2 separate regions of the Homo sapiens genome follow, and region 2 is linked to region 1. Evidence: promoter capture Hi-C in human tissues and cell types (Jung and others, 2019). All regions are on one chromosome and are shown on one strand. Each heading gives the region's core, a stretch centred on a gene start or on the middle of the fragment in contact. The rest is flanking DNA. Distances are from core to core; before and after follow the strand shown. Region 1 holds the start of NEUROD6 (neuronal differentiation 6). Region 2 has its middle 93 kb from the start of LSM5.

Region 1 (5,083 bases), core at 855-3,354:
AGCTCAGGGCTGTGGTAGGGTGGGTAGAAGGTAGAGTAGGGTGACCTTGTGTGGTGTGCAGCCTCCCCACCCTGACCCATCAGGAAACTCCTGGCGTTGAGCTGCAAGCAGCCTGCCACCAAGTTTGTAGTTGGCTGGGAAAGACCTTTGCATAAGTTTTGGACGAATGTGAGCAGATCTGGTCTCTTGCCGATTCTCAGAATTTCAGAAAGTGCCCAGATGTAGTTTTTGGCCAGTCGTAAAGTCTCTATTTTGGACAGTTTCTGGGTTTTAGAATAACAGGGGACCACTTTTCTTAAGTTGTCCAGAGCGTCGTTGAGGCCGTGCATCCTGTTCCTCTCGCGCGCGTTCGCTTCCTGTCTCCTGAACTTGACCCTTTCCAATCGCAGCTTTGTTGTCTTTTTTTTCCTAAGACCCCTCCTTCTAGGCAACCCATTTTCATCTTCCTCTTCCCTGTCTTCCTCCTCTTCTTCTTTCTCGGTTTCTTCTCCAGGGGCCCTTTTGATGCTCTTTCCTCGAAGGACAATCTGTTTGGAAAAGCTTTCTGGCTTCTTAATTTGCTTCTGGTCCTCGCATTCTCTAGAAAACTTTCTGCACATCTGGGATTCTGGCATTACAACAGACTCATCAAACGGTAGTGTTAACATGGTTCTCTAATCTTAAATTACCTGAAAAAATGCCAGCACAATATTTAAAGAGTTTTCATTTTTAAAGTTTATACACTTAAAACATATTTAATTATTTAATCATAAGATTACAAAAACACGTGAAAAAGACTGATTCTGGGCCTGATTTTTTAACATTAAATATAATTTTGAGTTTGTGAAGATAAGTAATTATGAAGACATTGATGCATTCAATAGGATTATTTATATGAGCAAATTATCAAAAGAAAATAAAAATGAAACATATAATTATTGTGATATCATTACCATCTACATTTCTCTTTGCCTTTAAACTGGATTTTAATACCCCCAAAAAAGATTGTGGAATTCAAGCAAATGCAAAACATGAAATTGCAATGCAGAATTTCATTAATTCCAATTCCCCTGAGCACAAAATGAGAAGATAAACCAGTTTTTAAAATGGACTATCTCTCCATTAGCTGACAAATTTGTGTTCTTTTTTTAAAACAAACAAACAAACAAACAAAACCTTAACTTTATTTGCTGTATCACACAACTGTGAATTTAGATAAGTGGGTGTGGGAATATACAAATTTAAAGAAAAGATTATAATCAGAGTCAATTTTTCAACTGATTTTTTCTGATCAGTAAAGAATTATGTAAAAGGGCACTATTTTCCCAGGCTTCAAAAAGAAAAGGGGATTAGGCTAATTTGGAATAAACTCTATAAATAAATTTAAAACATAAAAATCACTAGCAATTTCTTTTAATTAAAAAAAATAGAGACTGATTTTATTTACATTTAAATTTTTTCCAAATAGAATTGTCTGTTTACTGCTGTTCAAATCATCCTGGACAAAAACCACTCTCGTAGTGTTTTTGTTCTACGAGCCATAGAAGTCTCCCTCTAGCTAATATCTGACAGGAACGGTCCAAGGATTCTGACTGCAATTGTGCACGTGTGTTCAGAATCCCAAATGAAAGGGGAAAATAATTTGTGTTTCAAATGCATTTTGGTTTTTGTCTGGTGAAGCAGCAAGTATTTTCATCTAAAGTCTTCAAACAAATAGGCACATTAAAGCAGAGACTTTTCAATTTAACAATCTCCAGCCCCCTCAACACACACATATACACACGAACACATACACAAACTCTTAGTAATGTCCACATACTTGCAGTGTTACATAATAGCAGTGAAAGTATGTGATAATTACATCATAAGAATGAAATATGATAAGTTATAGATGGCAAAGAGCATATAAATACTATAAGACAGTGACACTGTATCTTTAAATACTTGCATGCAAAGCCAGCATCAATTGAAGTATATCTTTATTTATATTACCTTAGGTTTTAATTTCATTCAATAATCAGTTTTCATTTTGGGTCTTCCAAATCTTTTCAGGCTGAGTGTCGCATCGTCTCCTGGAGTCTCTAGATCTGTGTATATCTGCACTATCTCATTGATCTCTAAAAAGTGACATTGATGCCAACTGCCAGAGCTGGTACCCATGCCATCTGCTAGTGACGTCACAGGGCAGAGAGAGCCATGTGATCCTCTCTCTTGGGACCTTCATTCTGCACTGATCATCTGGCATCCCTGTAAGTGGGTACCAGCCTTCATGCATCAACACAGAAGGTTAGACTGATAGGAAAAAAATCTGCACCAGCATTTCACGTACAGTAGGTGCATTTCTCCTCGAACTGCTTCGGTTTCACTGGCAATCTGTAGAAATAGCTGTGTTAGTGTTCAGTTTCGCCCTGCCAAAGGTGCAAGTATTAGGTGATCGTTAATATTCCATTCATTTACAAGGTGGGCTTTTGTGTGAGCAAGAGGTTTTTTTTGTTGTTGATGATGTTGTTTTGTAAAGATCACCATCCCATTTGTGCACCTGGGTACCCAGGGAAAGAAAGCCGTGAAAAGGAGCTGGAAACTGGTCTTAAGACGTTTAACCAAACTAAGATTTGTGTAAGTGAACAGGGGTCAAAAAAGGTCTCCTTTGCTTGTTTTGTTTCACAGCGTGTAACTTATGAGTGTGTGTCTCTGTGTTCTCTTATTAACATGTAAGACTTCTGTGCTTCTTAGGCATTTGGAATAAAAGAACAGCTTCTCCATCTGGGGTCTGTGAAAGACATCCTCAAATACTCCCCTTCCTACACTTGCTGGTATCTTTCACCAACTTTTGCAGAGACACTGCAAGTCCGTTGTTAAGGATTTCAAACTACATACTTTGTCCTCTGCAGAAAGTCACTAACTTCACTCTTTTATTGTCCCTTATCTCTTCCCAGCGTTAACTTGCTTGTTCCCTCTCATTTCATTTCAGACACAATAAACATAAAAATTATCACTTAGGTGTTTGTCTTCCTCTCCCTGACATTCTGCTGAGTATTTTAATCAAAGATTAGCTTTCCTGTTTTTGTTTTTTTTTCTTTTTTTTTGACTTTCAGATTTTTTTCTTTCTCTTAAAAATCTTGTCCTCACATTTTTCTCTAGACCAACATCAATTTAAATATCTTCTTGTTCTTGTATCAGTGTCCAGTTGTTTTTCCCTGTCAGGTGTATTTCAGATTTATCTTTTTTCCCCGCTCCACACTTTTGGTTTCTTCTTAACAAAAGCAGGGTGGAAACAGTTAAGCAAAGCTGGCAAAGCCTTATAGATAATACGAACTGTGGAGGCAGAGACAAACTCCACCTTCCTCCTGTTTTCTCTTCTCCCGTGCCCCCACCCCTATAAAGGACATTTGATTTCAGGATTGCCTGCCAGTAAAGTAAAAAGTGCACTTAAAAAAAATAAGTAAAAGTTTTAAAATAAACAAATAAACGCAACCTTTGTTGTTTGGCAACTGAGTAATCTCTTTCTATAAAGTGAGAGAGTATGCTTTTGGTATTAAAGTAATCCCTGCAGAGCTGTAACTGTTGAATCTGTGTTAGCATTCCCCTTATAAATCCCAGTTTTGCAAGGTTTAGAATTCTGCTGCTTTAATGCACTTTGGATCCAAATTGGCACCAAGGGCCTCACACTAAATTCAATTTTGCTTCTGTCATACCCCACTCATTTCCACCTTCTTCAAAAAGTTGCTTGACTTTTCCTGGACAGTTCTAGAAATGTTGGGGAAGCTGGCAAAAAGGAGAATCAAATATGTAAAAGCAGATAATTTTTCTCTCTTAATGGCCCAGTAAAAAATGCAAATTTAAAATAAGAGTCAGGCTATAAACTCCTAAGTTAAAATAGGTAGGTTGGCCTAGCTTCTGTTTTTTAAAAAGCCAGATATACCATAGCCATTGTAAAATTTGTTGTTTAAGAATATATTACTTGGTAATGGGTGCATTGAGTATATTTCAGATGGCTTTTAATTCAAGAAGTACACACAGTTTTTATATTAGCATAGAGAATTTCTATAGGAAGGCCAGTTGCAGAATTTTGTTGGTCTCCCATATGATTTAATTTTTAAATGTAAAGGAGCGTAAGTATCAGAGTCATGAGCCACAAAGCAGCCAGTGCTGTCTTGAATTTTGTATATTGCACCATATTCTAAACTTGCAAAGTCTCCAAAAGCTGCATTGTATTAAAGGCATCACAAACATGAAAATCAAAATCCAAGGAATAGATGACATGATATGCCAGTAGAAAATTACCATGGATGTACTTCATTGAAAGGGTAGATTTTATATTTTATCTTGGCATTTGCAGAAAAATGAGAAGCAATTTATCGATAAAAACATTTGAGGCTGTGCTATTCCTGCCTTTGAACACGAAAGAAAAACCTTTGGTGCTGACGGGGTGGAGGAACAGAATTAGTGTTCAGGTTTTCTGACTATTAATCTATTGTTTGGATGCTTTAGTCTTTTGTTTTTTTTCAAAAAAAAGGTGGGGGTAATAAAAAGTTGTTATGTCAAGATTTAGCAAGAATTAAGTGTGTTTGTACAATAATCTTTCAAAAGAAATTTTGTTATGCATTTTCTACTATAGTTCCAGATATGCAAATGCCTGTGCTGTTAATATGCATTCATAACATACACCATAAGGGCTGTTCTACTCTCTGCTAAGAAAGCATGTTAACACCAATACTCCAAACAGAAATACATTCTGACTTATAGATGAATATGCAGAGTATGAGAAGTGTATTATCACCATTTCTATAATGTAGTTTCTCATTTTACAACAACTACTGCATACCAAAGTTCATATCTCTAACTCATTTTGGTATTAATTTAATTGATATGATTTTTGCTTCTGGGGCCATGCAATTTTATATTTTTTAAAACGTGTCCAATGTCTGTCTGTCTGCCTATCTCTTGCTTTCACTGGGTAAATGCTCATATTTCACTCATAAAAATGAGCCACGGAAAATTTAGATATAATTTTGACTCTGTTGTAAGACAATAAAAACCAAAAGTCCCAATTAAGGCTCGAGTGTTGTTGTTTTTTATGTCATCCTGTTGGTGCCTGTGTCTT
Region 2 (5,083 bases), core at 1,140-3,639, 1.1 Mb after region 1:
TGGTGTGCACCTATAGTGCCAGCTAATCAGGAGGTTGAGGTGGAGGTGGAAGGATAGCTTGAGCCCAGGAGGCTAAGACTGCAGTGAACCATGATCATGCCACTGCACTCCAGCCTGGGTGACAGAGCGAGACCCTGTCTGAAAAAAATATCTAAATAAATAAAAGAGTCTGGAACCTTCCTCCCTTTTCTCTCTCTCTCTTCCTCTCTCACCTCCTCTCTCACCGTGTGACATGCTGGCTCCTCCTTGGCCTTCTGTCATGATTGGAAGCTTTCTGAGTTCCTCTCCAGAAGCAGATCTGGTGCCATGCTTCTTGTACAGCCTGCAGAGTTGTGAGCCAGATAAACCTCTTTCTCTATAAATTACCCAGCCTCAGGTATTCCTTTAGAGCAACGGCAAAATGAATTGAGACAACTGCGATATGGAAAAGGTGAGAAATCTGGCCTATAATCATTCATTTATTCAATAACTATTTGAGCACATGCTATGTGCCAAGAACTGTACTCAATGCTAGTAATACAAAGATGGGGAGAAACAAACATCAAGGAGGAAAAGACATGTAAAACACATACCTCACAATGTCATAAGTGCAGCAGTCAAAACAGGTACAGGGGGAAGTGTGCTTTGGGAGGTCAGGGAAGGCTTCCTGGAGGAGGTGACTCTTCAACTGAGTTTACAGAGAAAAGTAAAAGATTTCCAGAAAGATGAGGGGGGCAAGAAACTACAGATAGAGGCATCAGCAGAGGCACAAAGGCATAAAAAGGGATATGGGTGAGGAAATAATGTGATTCCATATTGCTAGGATAGAAGGTGGTGAGGTGGGGGGTAGTGGTAGAGGAGGTGGACAGGTGCGCAGAAGCCAGTGAGGATGGGCTTAGACTGTTGATCTTCATCCTATCAGCAAGCTGGGAAGTGAACTTACAGTTTTTATCTGTTATTCCAATGACCTAAACTAAAACCTGGGGTAAGGCTATAAATTACAGAGAAAAAACTACTGGGTCAGTACAAGAAGAAACATTTTAGTTAGCTACAGCTACAAAGCTAAGAAGTTGTTTTACAGACTCTTGATCTTCACGAGTAGCAGACAGAGATATTTGTTAGAGATATAATAAAATTTGTTAGAGATATAATAAAAAGCATTCTCAGGAAAACCTTTATGAGGAAAACTTTAAAACACTCCTGATTGAACAATTCTAAAAAAAATATTTTACTTTCTTTACTTTTTCTTCTTGCCTTCAAATTTAATTTACAGGAAAAACATATTTTCTTTTTGGATAGACAACATAGTATTATATCTTAAAAACTCAGTAGTCCCTAAATTAATTTAAAAGTGAACGCAATCACAATAAAAATATCAACAAGCTTTTTTAAAATAATGGAGCTAGATAAGTTGATACTAAAGTTTATATGGCAAAAGAATCATAAAATAGCTGGAAAACCCAAAAGAGAAAAGCTATGAGGGTGGACTAGCCCCAGCAGAGAGTAAAACATACTATTAAGCTTCCATAATTAAAATGGATATGTAGCCAGGTGCAGTGGCTCACACCTGTAATCCCAACACTTTGGGAGGCTGAGGCAGGTGGATTGCTTGAGCCCAGGAATTCAAGAGCAGCCAGGGCAACATGGCAAAACCCTGTCTCTATAAAAATACAAAAATTGGCTGGGCATGGTGGTGCGTGCCTGTAGTCCCAGCTACTAGGGAGACTGAAGTGAGAGGATCACTTGAGCCCAGGAGGTCGAGGTGGCAGTGAGCAGAGATCATGCCACTGCACTCCAGCCTGAACAACAGAGTGAGACCTTGTGTCAAAAAACAAAAATAAAAAATAAAGTGGATATGCATATTGAAGTATGGGGGGGGGGAGTGTTGTAATGTCTTCAACTTTCTTTGAAATGCATGAAAAAATAAGATGAATTGATGGATGAATAGAGAGATAAGAGATGGATAAGTATGTGACAAAGCAAATGTAATGAAGTGTTCACTGTAGAATACAGACAGATACATGGGTTTCACTGTAAAATTCTTTCAACTTTGTGTATGTTTGTTATAGTAAAATGTTTTTTTTAAACTGGTGCCAAAAAAATAAAAACAACGTGAAACCAGCATAAGAATAAATCACAGGGAAATGTAATGAACAAACTGCAAAAACAGTCCAAAGTACACATGGAAATCTAATATTTGATACAGGTGGTATCTCAAATCATTTAGAGAAGAGATGAACATTTTATCAAATGACTTAAGGACAACTTCATAACCATTTGGAAAAAGATTGATTTAGATGCATATCTCACACCATAAACAAGGAAAAACTTAAAAAGGATCAGAGACCTAAAATTAAAAAACGAAACCAAATACTACATGAAAACATGGGTGAATTTCTCTACAAACTCCAGGTAGGGAAAAGCTTCCTAACTATGACTCAAAATCCAGATGCAATAAAGGAAAAGGTCTATAAATTTTACTATACTGAAATATACTTTCATGTGACAAAAAATATCATAACCAAAGCCGAAAAAGAAAATGTTCATAACATATAACAGATAAAGGGCCAATATCCTAATATATTTTTAACTCTTAAAAATTGAGAGGGACTAATGCCAGAAACCCAGAAAAAAATAAGTAAAAGACATGAACAGAAAACTTAAACAAAAATATATTAAACTTCATCCATAATTTTTTGATGCAAACTATAACTACCCCGAGATACCATTTCTCACATATCAGATTGACGGAAATTTAGAAGCTTGACAACATATTGTCAAGGCTGGAGGCAAATACAAGTTCTTATTCATTGCTAGTGGGAATGCAAACTGGTTCAGCTCTTGTAGAGGAGAATTTGGCAAATTTTTAAAAATTACATGTGCATTTGCCTAGCAATCTCATTTCTAGACCTTTAACTTGATGATACACCTCCAAACTATATGAAAATACATATATACAAGGTTATACATTGCAACTTTATTTGTAATTGCAATATATTGGAAACAATCTAAATGCCTATAGGAGAGAACATGGTTGAATAAATTATGGAACATCTGCAACTGTTTAAGAAAAAAAAGTGAGGGTCAGGCACGGTGGCTCACGCCTGTAATCTCAGCACTTTGGGAGGCCCAGGTGGGCAGATCATGAGGTCAGAGTTCGAGACTAGTCTGGCCAACATGGTGAAACCTCATCTCTACTAAAGATACAAAAAAAAAAAATTAGCCGGGCATGGTGGCATGCACCTGTAATCCCAGCACTTTGGGAGGCCAAGGCAGGTAGATCATGAGGTCAGGAGATCGAGACCATCCTGGCTAACACAGTGACACCCCTCATCTACTAAAAATAAAAAAATTAGCCGGGGGTGGTGGCGGGCGCCTGTAGTCCCAGCTACTCTGGAGGCTGAGGCAGGAGAATGGCGTGAACCCAGCAGGCGGAGCTTGCAGTGAGCCGAGATCGCGCCACTGCACTCCAGCCTGGGCTGCAGAGCAAGACTCCGTCTCAAAAAAAAAAATTAGCCAAGCATGATGGCATGCACCTGTAATCCCAGCTACTCAGGAGGCTGAGGCAGGAGAATCAGTTGAACTCAGGAGGCAGAGCTTGCAGTGAGCCGAGATTGCGCCAGCCTGGGTGACAGGGCGAGACTCCGTCTCAAAAAAAAAAAAAAGAAAAAGAAAAAGTGAGGAAGATCTGTATGAACTGATACGGGATGATTTCCAAGATCACTTGGTAGGAACTGTGATTTTTTTTTTCTTTTGAGACAGAGTCTTGCTCTGTCACCCAGGGTAGAGTGCAGTGGCGCAATCTTGGCTGGCCACAACCTCCACTACCTGGGTTCAAGTGATTCTCCTGCCTCAGCCTCCCAAGTAGCTGGGATTACAGGTGCATGCCACCAAACCCAGCTGATATTTGTATTTTTAGTAGAGATGGGGTTTCACCATATTGGCCAGGCAGGTCTCAAACTCCTGACCTCAAGTGATCCTCCCGTCTCGGCCTCCCAAAGTGCTGGGATTACAGGCGTGAACCACGGTGCCCGGCCAGAACTGTGATCCTAGCTGAGGGACAGCCAGCTAATGGTGACCCTACAGGAAGGGAACTTGGGGGAATAAATGACCTGATATTACTCTCCTTCCATCCTCCATTCTTCGGCACATTCTCATTGGCACAACCCAAACAGAAGACAGAAAGTAAGAGCAGACCATAAAGGTCAGCCTCCCAGATTAGGTAAGGGTGGAAAGTGGGTTTGGAGGATTAAACAGATCACCAGCACATAGGGTAACTTTTCCTCTTGCTAGACATTTAGTTTGCATCTGATTCTTCACTATTACAAATAGTGAACACCCTTACCCAGCAAATGTTTAACTGGGGGAGGGGCCCTGATTTGTGGTGTTTTCCACGGTATTCAGTATATGGTGTGAATACAGGGACATATACACAGTGAACTATGTCACTATTAGCAAGCTACCATTGTGAAATCACTGGATGAGGAGCTGGGAAGAGGTGTGCTCAGTTGGTTCTCATAGTCGATCAAGCCATCACCTACACACGGTTGTGTGTCCTCAGAGTTTTGTCCCCATGTTGGATTGCATTCTTAGAATAAATTCTTAGATTTAGAATGACTGGAACAATAGATCCAAATACTTTGTGGGATCCTGTACTGGTCAGACCCTGTAGGATCCTGTATTATTTTGCCACAACAAAATGCCATAGACTGAGTGGCTTAAGCAACAGAAATTTATTTTCTCATGGTTCTGGAGGCTGGAAGTCCATCATCAGGGTGCTAGCATGGTTGGGTCCTGGTGAGAGCCTACAGCTGGCTTGCGGGCGGTGCCTCTCACTATGTCCTCATGTGGCAGAGAGATCTTGCTCATCCTCGTCTTATAAGGCCACAGTCTTATTGGTTCAGGGATCCACCCTATGACTTCATTTAACTTTTTTTTTTTTTTTTTTTGAGACAGAGTCTTCCTCTGTTGCCCAGACTGGAATGCAGTGGCACAATCCCAGCTCACTGCAACTTCTGCCTCCTGTGTTCAAATGATTCTCATGCCTCAGCCTCCCAAGTTGCTGGGATTACAGGCATGTGCCACCACACCCAGCTAATCTTTT

Evidence for each region. Contacts are between HindIII fragments. The study calls those that stand out against the background at their distance.
Region 2: a contact is called between a fragment that was not itself captured here and the fragment with the promoter of NEUROD6 in region 1, in 1 of the 25 tissues and cell types used here (hippocampus).

The regions. Positions count from the first base shown.
Region 1 is chr7:31,338,622-31,343,704 of GRCh38, forward strand. NEUROD6 (neuronal differentiation 6) reads right to left here and starts at 2,105. Exons shown (of 2, transcript NM_022728.4): 1 at 1,972-2,105; 2 at 1-668. The coding sequence starts at 647. The HindIII fragment of the contact is 16,561 bases long and covers 1-5,083 here.
Region 2 is chr7:32,394,673-32,399,755 of GRCh38, forward strand. It overlaps a transcript of PDE1C not described here. Among named protein-coding and RNA genes, the nearest start is that of LSM5, 93 kb to the right of the region's middle. The HindIII fragment of the contact is 5,072 bases long and covers 1-4,925 here.